Linked DNA regions of Homo sapiens: all the other regions are linked to region 1. Evidence: promoter capture Hi-C in 16 types of primary human blood cells and fetal thymus (Javierre and others, 2016). All regions are on one chromosome and are shown on one strand. Each heading gives the region's core, a stretch centred on a gene start or on the middle of the fragment in contact. The rest is flanking DNA. Distances are from core to core; before and after follow the strand shown.

Region 1 (3,068 bases), core at 215-2,714:
TAAAATGGAGACAATGCTTTCATTGGGCAAGGCCAAGGGCCAGTGGAGGGGCTTCGACCTGGCAGCAATGGCCAGCATGGTCACTGGTACTTGTGAGCAACCTCCTTTCCTCCATTAGAGCACTATCCTGCTCTGTCAATGGTCACAAGTGCCCTCAGATACTCTTTTTTTTTTTTTTTTTCAGTTATCATCCTGTTTGTCTTCCCTGCAGCCTGTACACATCTGACCCTTCCCTTCTTACAGTCGTCTGCTCTTTTGGCTTTTCTGATGCGTCCCACACCTCTCTGACCCTTGCTTCCAGTCTCCTTCCTTTGGCTGTACGCTGTCCTCCTAGATTCTTCACAATTTGGATGATCTTCCCTATTCATTCCATCCTTTCTCATGCCACCTTTGGGCTGATGACTACTGATCAATATTCCTAGTCCAAACCTCCTGTGTGTCCAGTGGCTTATGGGACACGTACACTGGGATGTCCCCCAAACATTTCAAACTCAACACATGTAGATGAGAACAATCTTTCTCCTAAAGCATGTTTCTCCACCTGTGCTTTTATTGGCTGTCAGGCACGTAGTCACCCAACTTGGTGCTAGAAACTTGGGAGTCATCCTACCTCGGCTGGTTTTCTTCTCTTGCAGATTGCATCAGCTGCCCAGTTCCCTCCTCTCCATGCCCCCTGCCAATGCCTCATCACATTTTGCTTTCAGACTGCCTCCCAACTCACTTCTGTGCCCGCAGTGTGGCCTCACATCTGTCTACCTGTCACTGCCAGAGCCAGCTCTCTGGTGAGGAAGTCAGAACGTCATTGCCCCCACATTATTGACAGTACACAACTTAGGAAACCCGTAGTGCCCCTTTCTACTCAGCCACTCTTGCAGTCTGGTCCTCTGCCCCATCCCTGCAATCTTCTAGGAAGCTTATCTACCTATTGACTGGCAGCACCATGCCCCCGTGCCTCTGTTCTTCCTGCTGCGTGGAAATGAAGGCTAATGGATATTGGCTACTCCAGTAGCAGGCTGCATAGATGTACCACGTTGTTTTAAGCCATTTACATGAGTATTTCCCCCACAAGCCAGAGGTTTCCTCCGACCAAGTATCTTGTCTTGTTTATCTTTGGTCCCAGAATCTACTATGGTGAATGAGACATGGTGTGTGCCCAAGGCACGGAATAAACGATCAGAAATGATTTATTTATTCAGAGTGGGCTGTCAGCTTCAGCCGCTGACTTTTCTAGAGACCGGCTCCCTCGGGGCTTCAGCGCTCTTGGGCCCCCGCAGCCACGCAGGTGAAGGGCAGCGGGGTGGCTGGCTGTGGGAGGGCTGGGCTGGGTGGCTGCCCTCGCGCCTGCGCCCTCGGCTGCTCCTCTCCGGGCGCGTCTCTGTGCGCGTGTGTCTGTTTGGAGCGGAGGAGAGGCTTGGGTGACAGGCGAGGGGTGGGGGGAAGAGTTCAGCCTGAGTCACAGTCTCATTCACTGATTTCTCTTCGGCTGGACGGAGGCTGCCTCCTCACGCGGCTCCCAACTATTCCCGTAGCTCAGTGCCCCCCTCCCGCCGCTCTACTCAGCCAGGCAGACAGACTGACAGACTCGCTAGTGAGTAGCGGCGGCTTGAGCGCCCGGGCAGCGCGGCGGGCTGTCGCCGGCGGTCTTGTCTTCCCACGGGCTCTGTGTGTGTGTGTGTGTGTGTGTGTGTGTGTGTGTGTGTGTGTGTAGGATGTGCGTGTATGTGATGTGCGCGCAGGGGGTGTCCCTGGGATTCCACGCCTGCTCCAAGAGCTCCCTGCCGGGATCCGCGTGTCCATCCGAGTCTGCGATGCTGTGAGGGCGCTCGCCTAAGCAGGGGGTTCGGACGCCCCCCGCGAGCGGCGAGAGTTTGCTGGGATTCCCCGGCTCCTCACGCAGCGGCTGGTGGGGTTCCCCGGGAAGGCGCCTGGGTAAGGCAGCGGCGGGGAAGCCCGGGATTGTGAGTGGCTGGCAGGCCGGGAATCTGGGAGCGGGTTTGGCCCAGCACAGCCGAGGGAGATGCCGGAGCGGCCACCCTTGGCCGCCCAGCCTCTCTGCCTTTCTCCCTTGCCCTTCCTCCTTTCTTTTCTCAGCAGCATCACAAAGGCGCGCTGCAAAATGAAACCCAGTGTAGTGAAGCTCGGCTGTCTCCCACCTGGTGCATATTCCGCCCCCCGTCCTTGCCCCAGGCTGGAGGAGTGGAGTGGGGGTCCCCAAGATTAGGGGCGGGGTCTTACCACGGGGGCACACCTGTTTTCGATTCTTGCTGAATTCAAGCTGGGTGCGGGATCGCGAGAGAGGTTCCAGTACGCCGGTGTGTGTGTGTGTGTGTGTGTGTGTGTGTGTGTGTGTGTGTGGCCGCGCACGCGCACACGCTCCCCAGGCCCACGCTAGCGGGGTGCGCTCAGTCAATAGCACACCTCCCCGCCGGCCCGCGTGCGCCCAGCCGGCTCCGTGGGCTCCTCGCGCGCTCTCTGACAGCGTGCCGGGATCTCTTTGTTTGGTTGTGGCTTCCCTAGCTCTCGGCAAAGCAGACGGATTTTCGGTTTCGTTTGATACCGCGCTCTGGGACTTAGTGCGGGCCACAGCCTCGAATGCCCCTGGTATTTGTAATTGAAGAGTTCTTTCGGTCAGGGGGTTATTTTTGGTGTTGGGAATAAAGAGGCAAGCATGTTGACCTTTTTGCTGCTGCCTTCGGCTTTGAATGTGTGTCTCTGGTGGAGCAGACAGATTCAAATCTAGTCGCGCACACGTGCCAACGCACACCAGTGTGCACACACATTTCTACACACGTAGTTTACCCCCACCTTCTTTTTTCCTTTTAGAAAAATTGGGACAGGGAATACATTGTGTGTCTGTGAAAAAGTTTCCTTTGTTCTTTTGGGCATTTTCTATTTTGAGTAATGGAGTAGGAGTACGGAAAGGCTGCAGTTAGTTCACTCGATTAAAAGACACTGCCTCTGAGTCAGAGCTGCCAGGTTGATAATTATTAACATATAAAAGCAAACGCAATGTTTAAGGCAGAAGGGGCGGGACGGGGGCAGGTCCGCGGCAGACAATGAGGGAGAGT
Region 2 (3,068 bases), core at 371-2,870, 840 kb before region 1:
TAGATGCAATAGATTAATCTAATATGGTAATATCCATATTCCTAATTTAGTCAGGCAGAACATAACACCAAGTAGAAGGAAACCTACATAGCAAGCTAATACATACGGCGGATCTGATAAAGAGAGCTGCAGGTCTTTCAATTGTTGAATAACTTGTATTAAGAATAGTTCATCTCTATCTCTATGGTTGATCACTATTCCAGTACCACCTTAGGTAAAATAATGCCACCTACAAAGTTTGGCTTCATAGGGGACTTCTTACACTTACTGACTTAATAGGACAATGATATAATCTGAATATATGTCCCTACCAAATCTCATGTTGAATTGTAATCCCCCATGTTGGAGGTGGGGCCTGGTTGGAGGTTTTGGGTCATAGGGGTGTATCTCTCATGGTTTGGTGCTGTCCTCACGATAGTGAGTGAGATCTGGTTGTTGTAAAGCATTGCATCTCCCCCACTACTCTCTTTTTTGCTCCTGCTCTCTCCACGTGAGACACGTGCTTCCTCTTCACCTTCTGCCATGATTGTAAGCTTCCTGAGGCCTCCCCAAAAGCAGATTCTGGCACTTTGCTTCCTGTACAGCCTGAAGAACCATGAGCCTATTAAACTTATTTTCTTATAAATTACCCAGTCTCAGGTATTTCTTTATAGCAATGCAAGAATGGCCTAACACAGAAAATTGGCACCAGTAGTAAAGTTTTGCTATAAAGATACCTGAAAACATGAAAACAGTGTTAGAACTGAGTAACAGGCAGAGGCTAGAAGAGTTTGTAAGACTCAGAGAAGAAGGGAAGATGAGGGAAAGTTTGGAGCTTCTTAAAGGTTGTGACCCAAATGCCGATAATGATATGGACAATGAAGTCCAGGCTGCTGATGTCTCAGATGGAAATGAGTAACTTATTCAGAAGTGGAGCAAAGATCACCCATGTTATGCCTCAGCAAAAAGCTTGGCTGGATTGTATTTGTGCCCTAGAGATCTATGGAAGTTTGAACTTCAGAGTGATGATTTAGGGTACCTGGCAGAAGAAATTTCTAAGTAGCAAAGCATTCAAGACATGGACCAGCTGCTTCTAACAACCTATGCCCAGATGTGGAAGCAAGAAAATGACTGAAAATTTGAATTTATATTTAAACAGGAAGCAGAGCATAAAAGTTTGAAAAATGTGCAGCCTGGCCAGGTGAGAGAGAAAGAAAAAGCTTCTTCAGAAGAGGACTTTAAGCAGGCTGTACAGCAACCACTTGCTAAAGATATTTGCAAAACTAAAAGGGAGCCAAGTGCTAATATCAAAGACAGTGGGTTCGAGTGATTCTTCTGCCTCAGCCTCTCCAAGTAGCTGGGACTACAGGTGCACACCACCAAACCCAGCTAATTTTTGTATTTTTAGTAGAGACGGGGTTTCGCCATATTGGGCAGGCTGATTTCGAATCCTGACCTCAAGTGACCCACCCACCTCAGCCTCCCAAAGTGCTGGGATTACAAGAATGGGCAACTGCACCTGGCCCTCGTTTCTTATAAATTACCTAGTCTCAAGTATTTCTTTACAGCAATGCAAGAATGGCTTAACACAAACGGTTTCAATCCAATTCCAAATATCAACCTAGCTATGTGGCTACCTGGCTGCGAGCCGAAATACGTAACTTTTGCCCACTGTACAACTATCTGAGATAAAGCAGATATTTAAAGAAATTAAAACTAGGAAACTTTCCCTTGTCAACCAAATATAACACATATAAAACATAGACTTACTTGTCAAATATAAAAAGCCATCTTTGACTCAAAGTCCCTTCTGGAAAAATCTTCATCTTGTGAATATTTTACTTCTTCTTCACTAAAAACAAGTATAATTAAAGGATGTGTAAACCTTTAAGATCGAATACTAAAATGAAACTGAAATCACCTGTTAGTCATATGTGGCATTTTCTAATCTAGTGATAAGAGTCTGTGTCATTGTGAATACAGTACACCCTTTTATAACTATCTCATTGAGAGGAAGAAATAGCATAGGTCCTTTCATAGGCTGACTAGGCTCCAAGCTTTCACTGTATTTGTCAAATAAGTCAAGAAAATACAATTTGTCTCACAACATATCCAAATGGATAACATGTCATGTTTGAAAAGGAGGTTCTTAAATTTGAAGTACTCTAACAAAGTATCATAAACTCAGCCCTACCTACTTTTCAACCTTATACCTTCTCAAATCTTGTGCCCCAAAGAGCATATGATTGTTGGTCTGTATTCCCAAAATAAGCACTACTTTTCTTCCATTTCCAAGCCTTTGCTCAAGGTTATTTACTGCTGTCTAGAATAACTGCCATCTATCTGATGAAATTCTGTCAATCCTTTAAGAATCAGCTCAAAACCCACCATCTTTAGGCTTTCCCAGATCATCCCAGTATGTTTCTCCCCTTTCTCCTTGCAATCTCATCACTTCAGCTGTACTTCTCTTCTAGTATTTACCCACATATGCTTTTTTTTAAGAGACAAGGTCTTGCTCCATCACTCAGGCTGGAGTGCAGTGGCACAATCATAGCTCACTATAACCTCGAACTCCTGGGCTCAAGCACTCCTCCAGACTCAGCCTCCCAACAGTGCTAGGATTACAGGCTCATGCCACCATACCTGAACCCATATATACTTTAAAAGTATCTCCTTCATGGTTATGACCCTCTAGAAAGCAAAGATTATCTTATTCATTTTTAACATGCCCTCAATATGTCTACAACATTACCTTGCATGTTGTAAGTAGATAATAAACTATTGTAAGTGTAACTGAACAGAACGTGAAAAATATTTGATCTGATTTCTTGGAGAGGAACTTAAACTTCAAGTCACATTTCTAAACATATTCACAAAGACTTAATTTTGTATCTTTTTTTTTTTTGACATGGAGTCTCACTCTGTCACTCAGGCTGGAGTGCAGTGCCGCGATCTCAGCTCACTGCAACCTCCGCCTCCTGGGTTCAAGTGATTCTCCTGCCTCGGCCTCCCAAGTAGCTGGGATTACAGGCACCCGCCACCATGCCCACCTAATTTTTGTATTTTTAGTAGAGACAGGGTTTCACCAT
Region 3 (3,068 bases), core at 171-2,670, 810 kb before region 1:
GCTGGGGGAATAGAAAACATACGGTAGAGCTGGGCATTTAGATTTATATGATGACATTAAAGGATTGCGGGCTGATAGCTTTGGGGGGGTTTGTTTGTTTGTTTTGCTTTGTTTTTGCTAAAGACAGCTATTTTTAAAGCGAAGAGGGCAGACGTTGAGTGAATTCACATTCAAGCTAAGCTAATGAGAGGCTACCTAGTAAAGATTCTAGAGTGCTTTAGTGAATCCAGTGAACTGGCTTACTAGCACAGCAGTTGTTTATATGTAAATTATGCTCTGTAGCCATAGCTACCATATATTAAAGTCTTCTAGCCATCAGGTTTTGTGCAGGGGCCTTTACAGTTGTCATCCTCACCAAAACCCATGTAAAGTAGGTAGTGGTTTCCTCACCACACAGCAGAAGAAACAGCTTAGAGAGATTCAGATACTTCCTCATTTATTAGCCACACAGCAAATAAATGATAGGTCTGTGTCTAACCAGATCCCGTAATAGGTTAGCCTGCTTCTGGATATTTTGTTCTCAAATATTTAAGAACATCATTCTTGCAGACTTATATAATATATAATATTAATGTGTACTGTCTTAAAGGGGAAGTAAATTATAGTATAACTTAATCTGGGTTGTCAAAATTTCTGACATACAGAAGCCTATACATAGGATTCTTAAAGTTTTACTGTGGGTCTTGTGAATTTTTAATAGAGCTTGGTCATGTACATGAAACTGCTTTTTACATTGTCCTTTTGCAGTATTTTATAAGCTTAGCCTAATGGTCAAGAGCACAGAGTGGTTAAGAGATCCTGTCAGAATCCTAACTCCACCCCTTCTTAGCTATGTAACTGTGGACGGATTATTTACCCTCCGTATGTCTCAGTTTCTACCATAAGAAATGTGTAATAATTGTACCTACTTCATGGGATTCTTGTAAGAATAATGTATGTTAAGCATTTAGGGCAGTGCCTAGCACATAGTGAGCACTCCATAAACATTACCTATTGTTATTATTGTAGTTGCTATTTTTATTGCTGTGTTTTATTGTTAAATTTCTATTCCATATTTTTAATGTACACAATATTTTCTATAGATTGTATTTGCTATAATTTTCTAATTGGGGGGTATTGTATATAATTTTTAAATCTCTTTCACCTGTATAGCTTTCCAAATAGTTCATATTTGACATTTAGTATGCTTTTTCAATATATCATATGAATTATTTTTAAATAGAGTGAGTTAGCTTCTGTTGTACTTAGTATTTTTTTATCTGACTGAAGTAACTCTTATAATTATTTTAATTCAGGACATGGCCCAGTAATTCATAATGCTGAAGCTAAAATTCAACAATACATTTCTCACAGAAATATTCGAGAGCAGCAAATTCTTACATTATTTCGTGAGAACTTTGAGAAATCATTTACAGTAATGGAGCTTGTAAAAATTATTTACAAGGTAATTTTCAGTTTTCTTATTTGTATGTAGCCACAAATTTATTAGAATTATCTATTTAGTAGACTATAGAAATGATAAACTTATATCCCAGATCAGAAGTTACGCCACTTTTCTAGATTTGAGACCAGCAGCCTAAACTTTCTACAGTGCTAAAATTAAACAAAAACTGGCCTTAGAGAACAAAGATAGCCATTTCGAGCCATCATTGAACTTTATATACTTAACTATGTAGGAGAAACTGCCTAACTATGTAGGAGAAACTACCAACAGCCTGATGATTACATTTTGTAATAATTTTTGCATTATTCTAGCCATCTTGATTATCTTGTGTCCCAGCCTGCACCAAGAGAGGAGGGGTGACCTGCTAGACACAAATATTGGAATGTTAACAGTGAGAAGTAGTAGCAAAGCAGTGAGAAGTAGTAGCAATGCCAAACAATGGAGAAAAAGAAAAAAAAAATCAAAGAACATGAGTAAAATAGTATGTAGGGAAAGAGCCTTACACCTCACTGGCCTCTGAGAATATCACTGTATTGACAGCACTATATAGCAGTCAGTATAATTCAGTTTTTCAGCAAATGTTTATTAGATGTCTGCTGTGTAGGCAGCATAGCTTAGAGGTTAAAAATGTAAGCTTTTGTGGCCAGGCGTGGTGGCTCACCCCTGTAATCCCAGTATTTTGGGAGGCTAAGTGGGAGGTTTGCTTCAGCCCAGGAGTCCGAGACAAGCTTGGGCAACATAGTGAGACCTCATCTCTACAAGAAATTTTTTAAATGAGCCAGGTGTCATGGAACATGCCTGTGATCCCAGCTGCTCGGGTGGTTGAGATGGGAGGATCACATGAGCCTGGGAAGTCAAGGCTGCAGTGAGCCTACATCGCACCGTTGCACACCAGCCTAGGTGACAGTGCAAGACTGTATCTCAAAAACTTTTTTTTTTGAGATGGAGTTTTGCTCTTGTTGCCCAGGCTGGAGTGCAGTGGCGCCATCTTGGCTCACCACAACCTCTGCCTCCTGGGTTCACGCGATTCTCCTGCCTCAGCCTCCCGAGTAGCTGGGATTACAGGCATGTGCCACCATACCCAGCTAATTTTGTATTTTTAGTAGAGATGGTGTTTCTCAATGTTGGTCAGACTGGTCTCGAACTCCCGACCTCAGGTGATCCACCCGCCTCAGCCTCCCAAAGTGCTGGGATTACAGGCATGAGTCACTGCGCCCGGCCCAAAAACTTTTTTAAAAAAATTAAATTTAAATTAAAATATACAAAGATATTACCCTGTAACCTAATAAATAAATTACAGGGCCAACTGTCTGTAGCATCATGAAAACTTTCTAAGAATAATTTTACATTTATTCATTCATAAAATATTAATGTGTTTCTGCTATGTATTATTATGCTAAACACTGAATATTCAGTAATGAACAAAACAGATACTGCTGCCAGGCCGGGCATGGTGGCTCACGCCTGTAATCCCAGCACTTTGGGAGGCCGAGGCGGGCGGATCACCCGAGGTCAGGAGTTCGAGACCAGTCTGGCCAACATGGTGAAACCCCATCTCTACTAAAAATACAAAAATTAGCGAGGCATGGTGGCACACGCCTGTAATCCTAGCTACTCGGGAGGC
Region 4 (3,068 bases), core at 415-2,914, 780 kb before region 1:
ATAGGCAGCAACCAGTCTCTTGAATAGATCAGCAATGAGATAAGATTGAGAATCACTGCTCTCTGAAGAGTCAGAGTCTTCCTGGCAAGTACAGACCCTGCAGGACTGTTTACATGAGACAAGAATGGGTTTCTTTGCTGCACAGCGATGCACACTTGTAGTTCCAGCTACTTGGGAGGTTCTCTTGAGCCCAAGAGTTTAAGGCCAGCCTAGACAACATAGCGAGGCCCTGTCTCAAAAAACATCAAAAAGAATGGGTTTGGCAGGCATACAGATACCTGGACCTATGACCTTGGGCAAATTACTTAACATCTCTGAGCCTCAGCTTCTCTGTCTTTAAATAAAGACAACAACACCTATTTTATAAGATTTATGTGAAGACCAAATGATATATGTAAAGGCAAAATGCCTGGAATTTAATAAGCATGTAACAAACATTCGTTTCTTACTTTTCATCAATTTGTCCCCAAGGAGAGGTTGAAATCAAACAGTCCCATTTTAGTTCTAACTTATTTCTATTAGGTAATTTCTTGTACCTACTTTCACATCATCTCAGAACAGGTTTTTCATTCTTATACATGTCTTGTAAGGCCACATAAACACAACCTCATTGAGGGCAAAGATCATATTTCTGTTCTTTTATATTTCTCATAATTACAGCAACCTTGTACCACAAATTTTCCTGGATAGATCTAATCCCAAAAAGCTGCCTTCTGTCCTACAGTCATTAAAAGAATCCTGAGAATTTTAGGATCCAGGCTATGTTTGCCAAAGTCTTAACTTACTTGGAATGTGGCCTCCAGAGCTGAACACACATAAGAAATCAATCTGCCTGAGGGGTCCCTGGTGGGATAGCTCATCCCTGTAATCCCAGCATTTTGGGATGCCAAGGCAAGAGGATTGCTTGAGGCCAGGATTCTGAGACCAGCCTGGTCCCCATTCTAAAACAAAACAAAACGAAAAATCTGCTAAGGGAGGCCTCCAGAGCCCATGTGTCTTGGTAGGACCACTTTCCCCACCACCATGACCTACGCTTGGAGAATTTAATGGCAGCCACCTTTCACTATAAACTTAAGAGGCTAATCCTAAAAAAGAAGCTAAAATTATTATTAAACCTCCACATTCCCCTAAAAGACCTCAGGATCATTCTGTAATGCTTCAAAACTCTTTCCACCTTAGTCACCTCCAGAGTCAAACCTCCATTGTTATCCATCATCACCACAATCTCCTCCCCACAAAGCTCTATTCATCCTTTTATTTTGCTTAAGCCAAAAGCCCCTTCGCAGCCCCCAAACTCTTGCAGTGTATCCCCCAAAGCTCCAGGTGTGCCATCTACCAAATCCCCAACACCCTCTGCCTCTTTCTGAATGTTTTCTTCACCTTCTCGCTCAGAAACCTGGAGGCAGCTCTAACTGAAAACTGAAACCTGCTTCCCTGGAGCCTTCTCAAGAGGTGGCTGTTTCTTCCCTCCCACGCACCACATACCACAGAGCCTAGGGGTGGAATGGGTGTCTTTCATGGTCCTCATTGCTGCTGACAGACAATTCTCCTCCCTTGCTCAAAAACCCCAGCTTTTCTGGAAGTCCATGCCCTGAAACTACACCACCCACTACCCTCCTGTGGCAATCATCTGCCATCCTCTCAGGCTCTTCCTCATTTGCAGCAGATGTTAGTGCCCAGCTCCCTCACTGGCTCCCTTTCCATTCTTCTCCTTCACTCATTCTTGGTGATTTAGCATCCATGTGCTGAGCACCTTAGCCTCCTACTGCCTTGACTTCTCACTCTCAAAGCTCTCCTCCTCCATTCACCTCAGCTACCCACTCCCACCTTTCTACCCTGTGCATCTCATTGCCAGTGACTGCACAACCTCTGAAATCATTTCCAGCATCCCACTCTCTCACCACTTCCTCCTCAGCCAGCCCCCCTCCACAACAATTCTTCAGCCCCATAGGTGCCTCCAATTCAGAGGCCCTAGCACTATTTCTCTGTCCTCTGTCTCTGTCAGAGAACTGGCAAGGAATAGATGGCCCATTCAAAAGAATTTAGCTGGAGAGCACTTAATGAAGGGCTTATTCACAGAGGAGTAGCAGGTTGAATGAACCAACAAGGGATGGTGAAGTATGCGGGGAGTAAGAGCATGGGAAGCTATTACAACCAACAGCCTGAAGCGGCGGGGGAGAGAATGAGGTCCCTGGAGCCCACTTAGAGCTGAAACAGTAACAGAAAAGCTACCTGACACAGGCAGTGGCCACAGGAGAACAAACATAGTCACTGTTGGAACCATAGTAAGGCAAGGAGGGATGATGGGAGTATAAAGAAATCCCCAAACCCTCTGTTTTTTGGCTAGTGTCTTCCACAGACTTCCAGTCCCATTCCAATGGGAAGTCAAGGGCGAGGGAGCCCCAGTACTGCAGTCTGCAGACATTTGCCTTTCACAGCAGAAAAGGGTGGACTCTCAGGGCAGAGGGTGACAGTATAACAAGCATGACCACCACCTCATGGCCTTCACTTCATCACCCCTGCCCTCACCCTTGCACATCCTCCACATCCTTTGTCATACTGGCCTGGCAAAGCCCAATTCTGCCTTCTCCATACCTGTATCCAAACAGGGAGATATGCCTGGAGAAAATTATGTGGCTCTGCTTACTAGTCTCGCTTTAAATGTATGGCCCCAAATCTCAAGTGGGCCCTGCTGTCTGATTACATCCCTTTAATCTACTCACCCTCCACAGTTTTCCTCCATTCTCTTCTCAAATGTCATCACACTATCTCCACTCCTGATGATTTTGTTTCCTATTTTACTGAGAAAGCAGAAACAATCAGAAGCAGACAACTTCATCTTGCCATTATCAGCCTACCCCTAAATTCTGCCCTCTATCTGGTTGCTGTGGGCACCCTATCTTGTCACTGTGGTCAGCTGTGCACTACATGCCATCAACTCTGAGCTGCTCAAGGACTTTGCTTCTGCAAGCAACTCCTGTAGAATAAATCTTTCTTATAGATCATTCTCATCTGCATGCAAATACATCATAATATAGCTCATCCAAAAAGAAAAGCAAAACCCTTCC
Region 5 (3,068 bases), core at 414-2,913, 760 kb before region 1:
GCATGATCTCGGCTCACTGCAACCTCCGCCTCCCGGGTTCAAGCGATTCTCCTGCCTCAGCTTCCCAAGTAGCTGGGACTACAGACGCACGCCACCACGCCCAGCTAATTTTTGTATTTTTAGTAGAAACAAGGTTTCACCATGTTGGCCAGGATGGTCTCGAACTCCTGACCTCGTGATCCACCCGCCTCGGCCTCCCAAAGTGCTGGGATTACAGGCTTGAGCCACCAAGCCCGGCCTTACTTTTGTATCTTATAGTGGTTTACAGATACCTCTGTATCAGCAAAAAGCGTAGGTTACATGAGTTGTAATGTTCACAGTCATTTCCTCCTTTAAAAACAGCCCCAGTGTTTTCCAAGCTTCTTAAATGTTGTATAACTTTTCAGTTATGGCAATCAAAACCTTTAGTTGTATCACTCTAACTAATGAGAAAAAGAAAGGCAGTATTTGCTTTAATATTAGTGATAACAATCCCTTAAATTTATATGGTGTTCCATAGTTTACATACTTTTGAGTTTGTCAGACACATAATTCTTTCTAATCACTGTATTAGAGATGAATAACAGTGAGTTTTCCAGGGTAAAGCACTTCATGTTGGAAGTAGACTAAAACTCAGCTTTTTATTCCATTGCTCATTCCATTTTACTGTGCTGCTTTAATAATACTTTATAGGTAATATGTAAATTTTAGTTTAAAAACTATTATACATTTTTTTAAAAAAACATAAAAGTTATACTTCTGTGGGAAAATACTCTTACAAAAATCACTTTAGATTTTATTTATTTTTTAATCTTTTTTTTTTTTTTTTTACATATGCAGTAATTCTCACTGAGTAGATCTGATTATCTAAGAAAAAAATTGGGGCAGTATTTTATTGACGTAATTCCATAAAACTCGGTAGCACCCTGATCCTTTGTCTCCTGTCAGATGCTACAAACTTTTCCTGAAATCTTCTGATTACCTAAGACAAAATTCTTCTCTCCTGGTCACTGTTGTGCCTCTTATTGGTGGTTTTATGTTTGTTTGTGTACGTGTATTTTTATTCTATGGGATTGAAAGATTTTTTAGGGCCAGGAATTATGTCTTACCTGATTCCATATCTCATTTCTATCATTGATTTTCATTTTGCTCAAGTAACCAACTCAAATTGGCTTGAAAATAACTAAAACAACTAAGGATTTTGACATTAGTGGGTTCTTTGCAACCTGGTATGGGACCTGTAAATGTTTGAGAAATGAAAGTAATGCCTTATTTTCCAAGAAGTTTGCATTATGCTCACAGGTTAATTTTTATATCTTCTTTCTTAGGAAAACTACATCTCAGACCCAACTATCTTATGGAGGGCTTATCCCCATAACCTGATGACGTAAGTCATTTTTAGCAGCCCTTTCTTTGTTAAGGACCATGGTCATGTCACTATTAATCAGAATTCATTCTTGTTATTCTCTTTAGGACCTTAGGCAAATGCATAAAATAGATGAAAATATGTCTTTGACAGTCCCACTGCCGTAAGAAAAAAAAAGCTGTGTACCTTTTTTTAATGTTTCTATTCTAATCTTTTCAACATCTTTGTAAGCTTGAGACAACTGATTTTAACATAACTTAATTTGGTACTCGCTTCTTTTCCCTTCTTTTCACTCATACTTTCTCCTTTTTATGACTCCATCTTCTCTATATTTTTGCTCCTTTTCTTTGTCCCCACCCCCTGTCTCTTTTCACATCTTCCTTTCTTTCTCCTATTATAAGCTTCTTGAGGTTAGGAATTGTTTCTTTTTTATTTCTCTAGTCTGTACAGTGCTGCTGGGTTAAAGTGCTCAGTGGTTACCAAGACGTCTGAATAATTCATTATTCGAGCCCAGCTCTAGTACAACTATTCTATATTAATTTTCCTTGCTATTTTAGCCTGTATTGGTCTTTTGTATCCCCAAATTTGTCATTTTGGTAGAAATTTGATGTAGTGTCTATATATTGTTTTGATTGTTCTATAATTGTCTCATTTTTGTAAGTCTTGTATTGTGCCCATACCCACTAAGACTATATGTGCCTTGGTAGCGGTAAAAACTATTTTATATCCTTCATTGTGCCAGGTACATTGCAAGTGCTTGTCACCTACACAGTATTTAGTAAATACATTGTGATGTGAGAATTGGAGAAGGGAGAAGATACGAAGGAAAGAAGGGAATAACCTGACTGTGGGTATTTTAAGTCTAGCAGTAATACCCACTCTACTGAATCATACTCTGATTTCTAAAGTTTTATTAGTTCAACGAACTTTGTAAATATTATATTTATGTGGGACTGTATTCTCTCCACCCCGACCACCAAGAAATTAGGTTGGCTTTGTGTTTTCTATTTTAGACTTCTGGAGGAGAAGGAGCAGGGAGAATAAAGAGGAAGCAGAAGGGCTAGAGGGATATAATGTCAAGAGGAGAGTATTGGTTCTAGACTGATTATGATATAGCTCCTGGAGAGCCCTTGTGTGCCTTATTCTGACTGTCTTTAATCCTAGCTCTGCCTCCATTTATTTGGGGCTTTCTCCATGTTCCAACCAGGTACAGTTACCATATTTGCCTAAGAAAAAAAAAAAAAACAGAGGATATTTGAAATTGGGATTATTCCAGTTTCAGGTGATTATTAATCTATGAGCCTTTGCTTTTGTGTCAGTCTTTTTCCCCTTCTTGTCTTGATGAAACTGTATAGACATGTGGGTTATGTTTTCAGTAGCTAACATGACATACTAGTCAGTATTAATGAACTAATAGGGGCTCTGACTCCTCCCAACTGGCTTACATGTCAATAGCTTTCTGCAGATAGTATCTTTGCCTGCTGTTTAATCCAGGGGTCTTGTCCAATGGTGGGACTGTCACAGGGAGATGGGGAAAGAGGTTGTTGAAGAGTTGTTTAAAGGTGCACAGATATTGTATGGAATGATGACACAAAGGTAGTTACTTAGTATATCCTGATTTCCAGTATTTGTTTACTTTTTTTTAAAAAAATTATGCTTTAAAAGGTACTCTTCATTTTCTTGTGTTGTACAGATTTCAAATGAAGTTTTTCTACATATCACA
Region 6 (3,068 bases), core at 1-2,500, 720 kb before region 1:
TATTTTTAGTAGACACGGGGTTTCACCTTGTTAGCCAGGATGGTCTCGATCTCCTGACCTCATGATCCACCCGCCTCGGCCTCCCAAAGTGCTGGGATTACAGGCGTGAGCCACCGCGCCCGGCCAAAAGATTATTAATGTAGTTGTTCAAGGCTGAAATCAAACATTTTGGGTATCCTGAAAACAAGCAAATAAAAAATTTAAGAAGCTTAGGTCCATGTTATACTCTCTTTTGTGACTATTAGTAACTTAACTTTGACCTAATTTAAGTTTACTGAAGAAAACAGTCATATTTTGAAGATCCAAACTTCAATCAACTCAAGTGATAAATAGCCTTATTGATTTCAGTTATTATGAATAGTTACACAGTGGTAAGACTAGCTAACCAGAGTTCAAATCGTGACTCCTCCACTGATCAGCTCTGTGTGATTAAATGTCTGTACCACAGTTTTCTGTGGTAATAACACCTACTCCACAAGATATGAACATGAACTGTGCATAGCCCTATGCCTGATGTTTATTAAATGTTAGTTGCTAGCTCATAAGGTTGTGACAAACACAGCAGTAATTGTCACTGCTGTTACCACTTTTCTGTTTTATGTTGAAGTTTCACAACACTGTTCAGCATTCATGCCATGCAATGCAAGCACAGTGTTCCACGACTCTACTCTGGAGCAGATGGGCCAATAAAGTTGCAAGAAATGTTCAAGCCAACATTACAGCCAGCAAAGTTACACTGAATCATTGGATGACTGTGCAGGCATGCTTCACCAACACAAACATTCATAAATCAAACATCCAAGTCTGTGCTGAATCATTTATACCTATGTGATATAATAATTATAAAAGCGAGTTGTAGGTATGGTTTCTAAGGAATGACTTTTTAAAGTCAGATATCTATGGTTTATGGGGCCATATTTCCATTTAGCTGATGTATATAACTTCTAGAGAATTTTTGGCTGCTTGGAGTTGCCTAACCTTCCAGTGTAAAGAATCAAACTTCATTAGGTAAATGAGAACGTTACAACACAATGTTTATCATGAAGTTTGAACTGATATCATAAAATGTCCTAGAATTCACATTTCTCCAAGTGGGCTGGAAGGCCTGGATGTGACAGTACATGGGGCATCCACATGTAAGTGTGGGTCATGTGTGAAAGAGTGAAATCTGAAGACTAAGGTACATACTCTGTTGTGTCCTTGCTGATTGCCTTCTGAACTAATCCTTTTCTCTTCTTATATCAAATATAAGAAAATACGGCCAGGCACGGTGGCTCACGCCTGTAATCCCAGCACTTTGGGAGGCCGAGGCAGGTGGATCACCTGGGGTTGGGAGTTTGAGACCAGCCTGACCAACATGGAGAAACCCCGTATCTACCAAAAATAAAAAATTAGCCGGGCTTGGTGGCGCATGCCTATAATCCCAGCTACTCAGGAGACTGAGGCAGGAGAATCGCTTGAATCCGGGAGGTAGAGGTTGTGGTGAGCCAAGATTGTGCCATTGCACTCCAGCCTGGGCAACAAGAGCGAAACTCCATCTCAACAACAAAAAAAAGAAAACACAGTAAAGTTACTTATGAGAACAATTATAATTTACCTAGCTCTGTCGCTCAGGCTGGAGTGCAGTGGCGCCATCTCAGCACACTGCAACCACCACCTCCTGGGTTCAAGCAACCCTTTCACATCGGCCTCCAGAGTAGCTGGGACTACAGGTGCACACCATTACGCCCAGCTAATTTTTGTATTTTTTATAAAGATGGGGGTTTCACCACGTTGCCCAGGCTGGTCTCAAACTCCTGCGCTCAAGCAATCCACCTGCCTCAGCCTCCCAAAGTGCTGGAATTACAGGTGTGAGTCACAGCACTTGGCCTATAATTTAATTATCAATGCAATTTAATCAACCTCATCTAAGTCACTAGTGACCTCAGGATCACCTATAGTGGTCCTTTTCCATTTCAAAGGAATGACAACATACAAACAATGTGACACCGGTTATTTGTCACTTAGGTCTGAAGGGAAAATATCTATACTGTATATACTAAGTAAATGAAAAATTAAGTATGGTTTTTAAGAAGTAAATTCAATTCTGTAGAATTAAGGCCTTGAAGACTACCAGGAATATGTTACAATGATTGGTGGTTGTATCCATTTGTTTTGCATTGCTATAAAGGAACCCCTGGGGCTAGGTAATTTTTAAAGATAACAGGTTTATTGGCTAATGGTTCTGCAGGCTGTACAAGAAACATAGCATCATCATCTGCTCAGCTTCTCATAAGGCCTCAGGAAGCTTTTACTCCTGGTGGAAGGTGAAGGGGAAGTAGATGTGTCACATGGTTAGAAGGGGAACAAGAGAAAGAGGAGGAAAGTTCCAGTCTCTATAACAACCACATCTCACACAAACTCATTACTTTGGGGAGGGCACAAAGTCATTCACAAGGGATCCACCCCCATGACTCAAACACCTCCCAGTAGGCCCCACCTTCAACATTGGAGATCACATTTCAACATAAGATTTGGAGGGGACAAATACCGAAACTATATCAGTGGCTTACCTACACCCTAATACATGTAGGAAGCTTTAAAAAATTCAAAAGAGATGTGAGGCTGGGTTCAGCTTCATCTTCAAAGAGAAATTCCATAACTGCAGAATCATCAATCATTCTCTGGGAACAGAAAGCCCTAGTTGAAACCTAGAAGTCATTTCTTTGTTGATATGGTGAGTCAACTCTGTCTCAGTGCAGAAATACTGGTTCGAAGGAATGAGATGGAGAAGGACAGATAATTGTTAGCAAAAAGAAATCTCTTTCTGAAGAGATAATACTCTGCAGTGATTTTCATTGAAATTTACAAAACATCTCTAAATATTGGCCTTTATACAGTAAGCTCAGGCTTATTCTGCTATTATATAGCAACTTAATTTTGCATGACCTGTGGTGGCGGGGTTTTTTTTTAATTTGTTTTTATGAAGGATCAAACAGAATAAGGAATTTTTGTTTGTTTGTTTGTTTTGAGACCAGGTCTCGCTCTGTTTCCCAGGCTGGAGTGCAGTGGTGTGATCACAGCTCACT
Region 7 (3,068 bases), core at 332-2,831, 700 kb before region 1:
AATTTATATTTAAATATATTTTCTTAAAATATATTTTAAAATATATTTCTTAAATAAATGTGAGATTTGAACAATAATGTTAACCACAGAGGAAAAGATTGATAAATTGGATTTCATCAAAATTGCGAACTTCTTTTCATCAAAATGACGAGAATAAGAGGGCAAGTGACAGAATAAAGGAAATTATTTGCAATATATTTATCATATAAAGAACTTGTATTAATCAATAAAGACAGACAATCCCGTAGCAAATGAACAAGACACTTCACGAAAATGATATTCCAATGTCCAATAAATGTATATAAAAGTACTTTATTTCCTTATCAGAGAAATGCATACCATTTCAATGTTATTACAATTACAATCTCACCAGAATGGCTAGAATTAAAAGGATTGGCAACACAAATGCAGAAGATGCCAGCAACTGGAACTTTTTTTTTTCCCCAGATGGAGTCTTGCTCTGTTACCCAGACTAGAGTGCAGTGGTGCTATCTCAGCTCACTGCAACCTCCACCTCTCAGGTTCAAGCAATTCTCCTGCCTCAGCCTCCCAAGTAGCTGAGATTACAGGCACTCGCCACCACGCCCGGCTAATTTTTGTATTTTTAGTAGAGATGGGGTTTCATCATGTTGGCCAGGCTGGTCTCGAACTGCTGACCTCATGATCTGCCCACCTCAGCCTCCCAAAGTGCTGGGATTACAGGCATGAGCCACAGCTCCCGGCAGCAACTGTAACTTTTGATGCAGGATTTTTCTTCTCGGTCACTTTGCAAACCGGGACCTCCGGCCAGCGATGCCCCACCCGCGCCCTGCTCAGCCACGCTGGCATGCCCCAGCTCGCCTGTGTTATAGCTTCTATCCGCGTTCGGCGGTTCCCAAGCTCTTGTACCCACGTTCGGCGGTTCCCAAGCTCTTGTACCCGCGTTCGGCAGTTCCCAAGCTCTTGTACCACGCCTGAGAAGAATGAGGATACGTTGGACATTGAAGGGTGAAGAGGGCGGAGAAGAATTTTATTGAGCAAGGGAACAGCAATTAGCGGAGAAGGGACTCTGGGGGGTGGTCGCCCACCCCCTTAGTCGGATGGTTTTTTCCTCCCCTCGTGGCTGGGTCACGAGCTTTTTATAGGCTTAGAATAGGGGAGGGGCAGGTCATAGGTAGTATTGGAAAAGGCAACGCTTGATCGGTTAAAACGCATTATTTAGAAATAATTAATCAGGAAAGAGCGGGGGCAAAAAGGAACAGAAATACTCAGCCTGTGTCGCGGGTTTCATCTGGGACCAGCAGTTCAGTGTTTTTGGCTGGAAGGTGGGGTTTCACCCCATCCTCCTGGGCATTTAGCAGCCTCCAGCCGCTCTCACTTTCGTGTGCCATGGACGAGATGATAAACTGAGATTGTAGAGGAGTTGCAGTTCTTGGCAGTGACCAGGTCTAGAGAACGACCACTGAGGTAAGTGACTGAGGTGGGTAGATGACAAGGGGAGTTAAAGGTGCTGAGAGGCCTGGGTACAGAAGCAGTCATCAGCGTGGATATTAAAATCACCAGGAACAAAGGCTGACGTGGTTTCGGAGAGACTTACAGAAAGCTAAAAGCTAAAATGATGGAGATGTGAGGGGCTCAGCTCAACTGATGACGGTATCAGTAGGTGTGGTAGACGGTGGATGGTATAGTCTGAGGACAGGAGGTGAAAGCTAGGGGAGCACAGGGACTTTCTGGTCCACCACCATCCTCGTCTGTCTGACCAATACATCTCTCTGCTGGGTTTCTATGTTATCTTTTTCTCTTTTAAAATTTAATTACATTCCATCTCATAGATTTCAATCGTTGATTTACTTATTCCCTTTCCCAACCACTCTATGAGAACACCACGTCTAATTTGATTTTGTGTTCCCGAGGCCTCGCTCATTGGAAGCACTCAAAGATTCTTTGTTGGATGTATGAATGAAGAACTTGTTAAGTGCACCCGCAGAGTATACGTGGTTGGCTCAGCCACGCGAGGTTCAGTGTTAAGCACAGTCCACTGGGAGGCAGTGTTGTGCAGTGAAAAGGTCTCAGCTTTACGAGACAGAAGGCCAGATCTCCAACATCAGTTCTGCCACCTTCTATCTGCCTGACCTTGGGCCACAGTCTCCTTAAGACACAGGCAAAATGGGAATACTGAGAAAGAGAGTCATTTTCTTACAGGAGTACTGTGAAAATTAAAGGTAATTTAGGTAGATTTAGGTACAATATCCGCATATAGTCGGTGTATTTATCATAGGGTAACTTGATTGCTTTCTAATAACAGTAAGCACGATTGCAGGTTAAGTCTTCCAAAGAAGTGTTTTTCATAATCATGCTGCAAATGATTCTCACTCTAAAATTGTCAGCCCAATTCTCACCTCTCTCAGAGGCCTTGTGGTTGGATGCTTGAGGCTCAGAGGTTCTCAGGGCTCCATGAGACTGGGGGCTCCACTGGGGATCAGGCAAGTCCAAGACTTAAGGGACTGGCCCTGGTTCAGCTGCATGTGCATTAAATAGATTTTTGTGCACTGGCCTGGGAAACAAGCCACCATCTATAATTCTGTTTCTATGGGGAAAGGCTTTCTGTGTTCCAAACAACCGACTTACTAATGAACTCCTGGAACACAACCTATGTGTCGATGGGGACTGGCCGACTGGGTTTTCATGGCCGAGTCAGCCGCCCAAGCAACTGCACAGTGTTGAGCTAATTATAATGGGTTCTCTACGGTGACTAATCTAGCTGTGGTCTCCACAATTGAAGTGGAATTTTGAAAAACTGGAGAAGGTTCTGCAAAAAACCACAAAGATGATTAAAGGACTTAAGGAAAATCTAGTCTGGTCTCTACAGTTTTAAGAGGACTGTAGAAACTATCCATGTAATCATCACTCTCGATTGAAAAAACAAAGTATGCACGCCTGTAGTCCCAGCTACTCGGGAGGCTGAGGCACAAGAATCGCTTGAACCTGGGAGGTGGAGGTTGCAGTGAGCCGAGATCGTGCCACTGCACTCCAGCCTAGCATCAGAGCGAGACTCCATCTCAAAAAAGAAAAAGAAAAAACAAAGTATT

The links. The method cuts DNA at HindIII sites, captures the fragments that hold promoters and counts their contacts. A CHiCAGO score of 5 or more calls a contact.
Region 2: a fragment that was not itself captured here is called in contact with the fragment with the promoter of SLCO5A1 in region 1 in 1 of 17 cell types (total B cells); the score reaches 6.0 in total B cells.
Region 3: a contact is called between a fragment that was not itself captured here and the fragment with the promoter of SLCO5A1 in region 1, in 1 of 17 cell types (total B cells). The highest score is 7.3, in total B cells.
Region 4: a fragment that was not itself captured here is called in contact with the fragment with the promoter of SLCO5A1 in region 1 in 3 of 17 cell types (total B cells, naive B cells and neutrophils); the score reaches 8.8 in total B cells.
Region 5: a contact is called between a fragment that was not itself captured here and the fragment with the promoter of SLCO5A1 in region 1, in 1 of 17 cell types (total B cells). The highest score is 7.5, in total B cells.
Region 6: a contact is called between a fragment that was not itself captured here and the fragment with the promoter of SLCO5A1 in region 1, in 1 of 17 cell types (neutrophils). The highest score is 6.0, in neutrophils.
Region 7: a contact is called between a fragment that was not itself captured here and the fragment with the promoter of SLCO5A1 in region 1, in 3 of 17 cell types (naive B cells, total B cells and neutrophils). The highest score is 7.0, in naive B cells.

The regions. Positions count from the first base shown.
Region 1 is chr8:69,833,374-69,836,441 of GRCh38, reverse strand. It overlaps SLCO5A1 (solute carrier organic anion transporter family member 5A1), which reads left to right and starts at 1,464. Exons shown (of 10, transcript NM_030958.3): 1 at 1,464-1,588. It overlaps SLCO5A1-AS1 (SLCO5A1 antisense RNA 1), which reads right to left and starts at 2,330. Exons shown (of 4, transcript NR_186568.1): 1 at 2,249-2,330. RefSeq lists a silencer at 1,199-1,308 and an enhancer at 1,629-1,708. The HindIII fragment of the contact is 8,160 bases long and covers 916-3,068 here.
Region 2 is chr8:70,673,581-70,676,648 of GRCh38, reverse strand. It overlaps XKR9 (XK related 9), which reads right to left. Exons shown (of 5, transcript NM_001011720.2): 2 at 1,750-1,831. Among named protein-coding and RNA genes, the nearest start is that of XKR9, 5.8 kb to the right of the region's middle. The HindIII fragment of the contact is 837 bases long and covers 1,202-2,038 here.
Region 3 is chr8:70,639,278-70,642,345 of GRCh38, reverse strand. It overlaps LACTB2 (lactamase beta 2), which reads left to right. Exons shown (of 7, transcript NM_016027.3): 5 at 1,296-1,444. All of the region lies in intron 1 of LACTB2-AS1 (LACTB2 antisense RNA 1), which reads right to left. Among named protein-coding and RNA genes, the nearest start is that of LACTB2, 28 kb to the left of the region's middle. RefSeq lists an enhancer at 235-284. The HindIII fragment of the contact is 1,320 bases long and covers 761-2,080 here.
Region 4 is chr8:70,613,668-70,616,735 of GRCh38, reverse strand. The region is part of intron 1 of LACTB2-AS1 (LACTB2 antisense RNA 1); the gene reads right to left. Among named protein-coding and RNA genes, the nearest start is that of LACTB2-AS1, 6.6 kb to the right of the region's middle. The HindIII fragment of the contact is 4,125 bases long and covers 1-3,068 here.
Region 5 is chr8:70,594,561-70,597,628 of GRCh38, reverse strand. It overlaps TRAM1 (translocation associated membrane protein 1), which reads left to right. Exons shown (of 11, transcript NM_014294.6): 5 at 1,308-1,366; 6 at 3,039-3,068. Among named protein-coding and RNA genes, the nearest start is that of TRAM1, 12 kb to the left of the region's middle. The HindIII fragment of the contact is 170 bases long and covers 1,579-1,748 here.
Region 6 is chr8:70,556,902-70,559,969 of GRCh38, reverse strand. No RefSeq gene overlaps it. Among named protein-coding and RNA genes, the nearest start is that of TRAM1, 50 kb to the left of the region's middle. The HindIII fragment of the contact is 2,079 bases long and covers 211-2,289 here.
Region 7 is chr8:70,533,592-70,536,659 of GRCh38, reverse strand. LOC105375890 (a long non-coding RNA gene) reads left to right here and starts at 715. Exons shown (of 3, transcript XR_929030.3): 1 at 715-1,446. The HindIII fragment of the contact is 3,569 bases long and covers 1-3,068 here.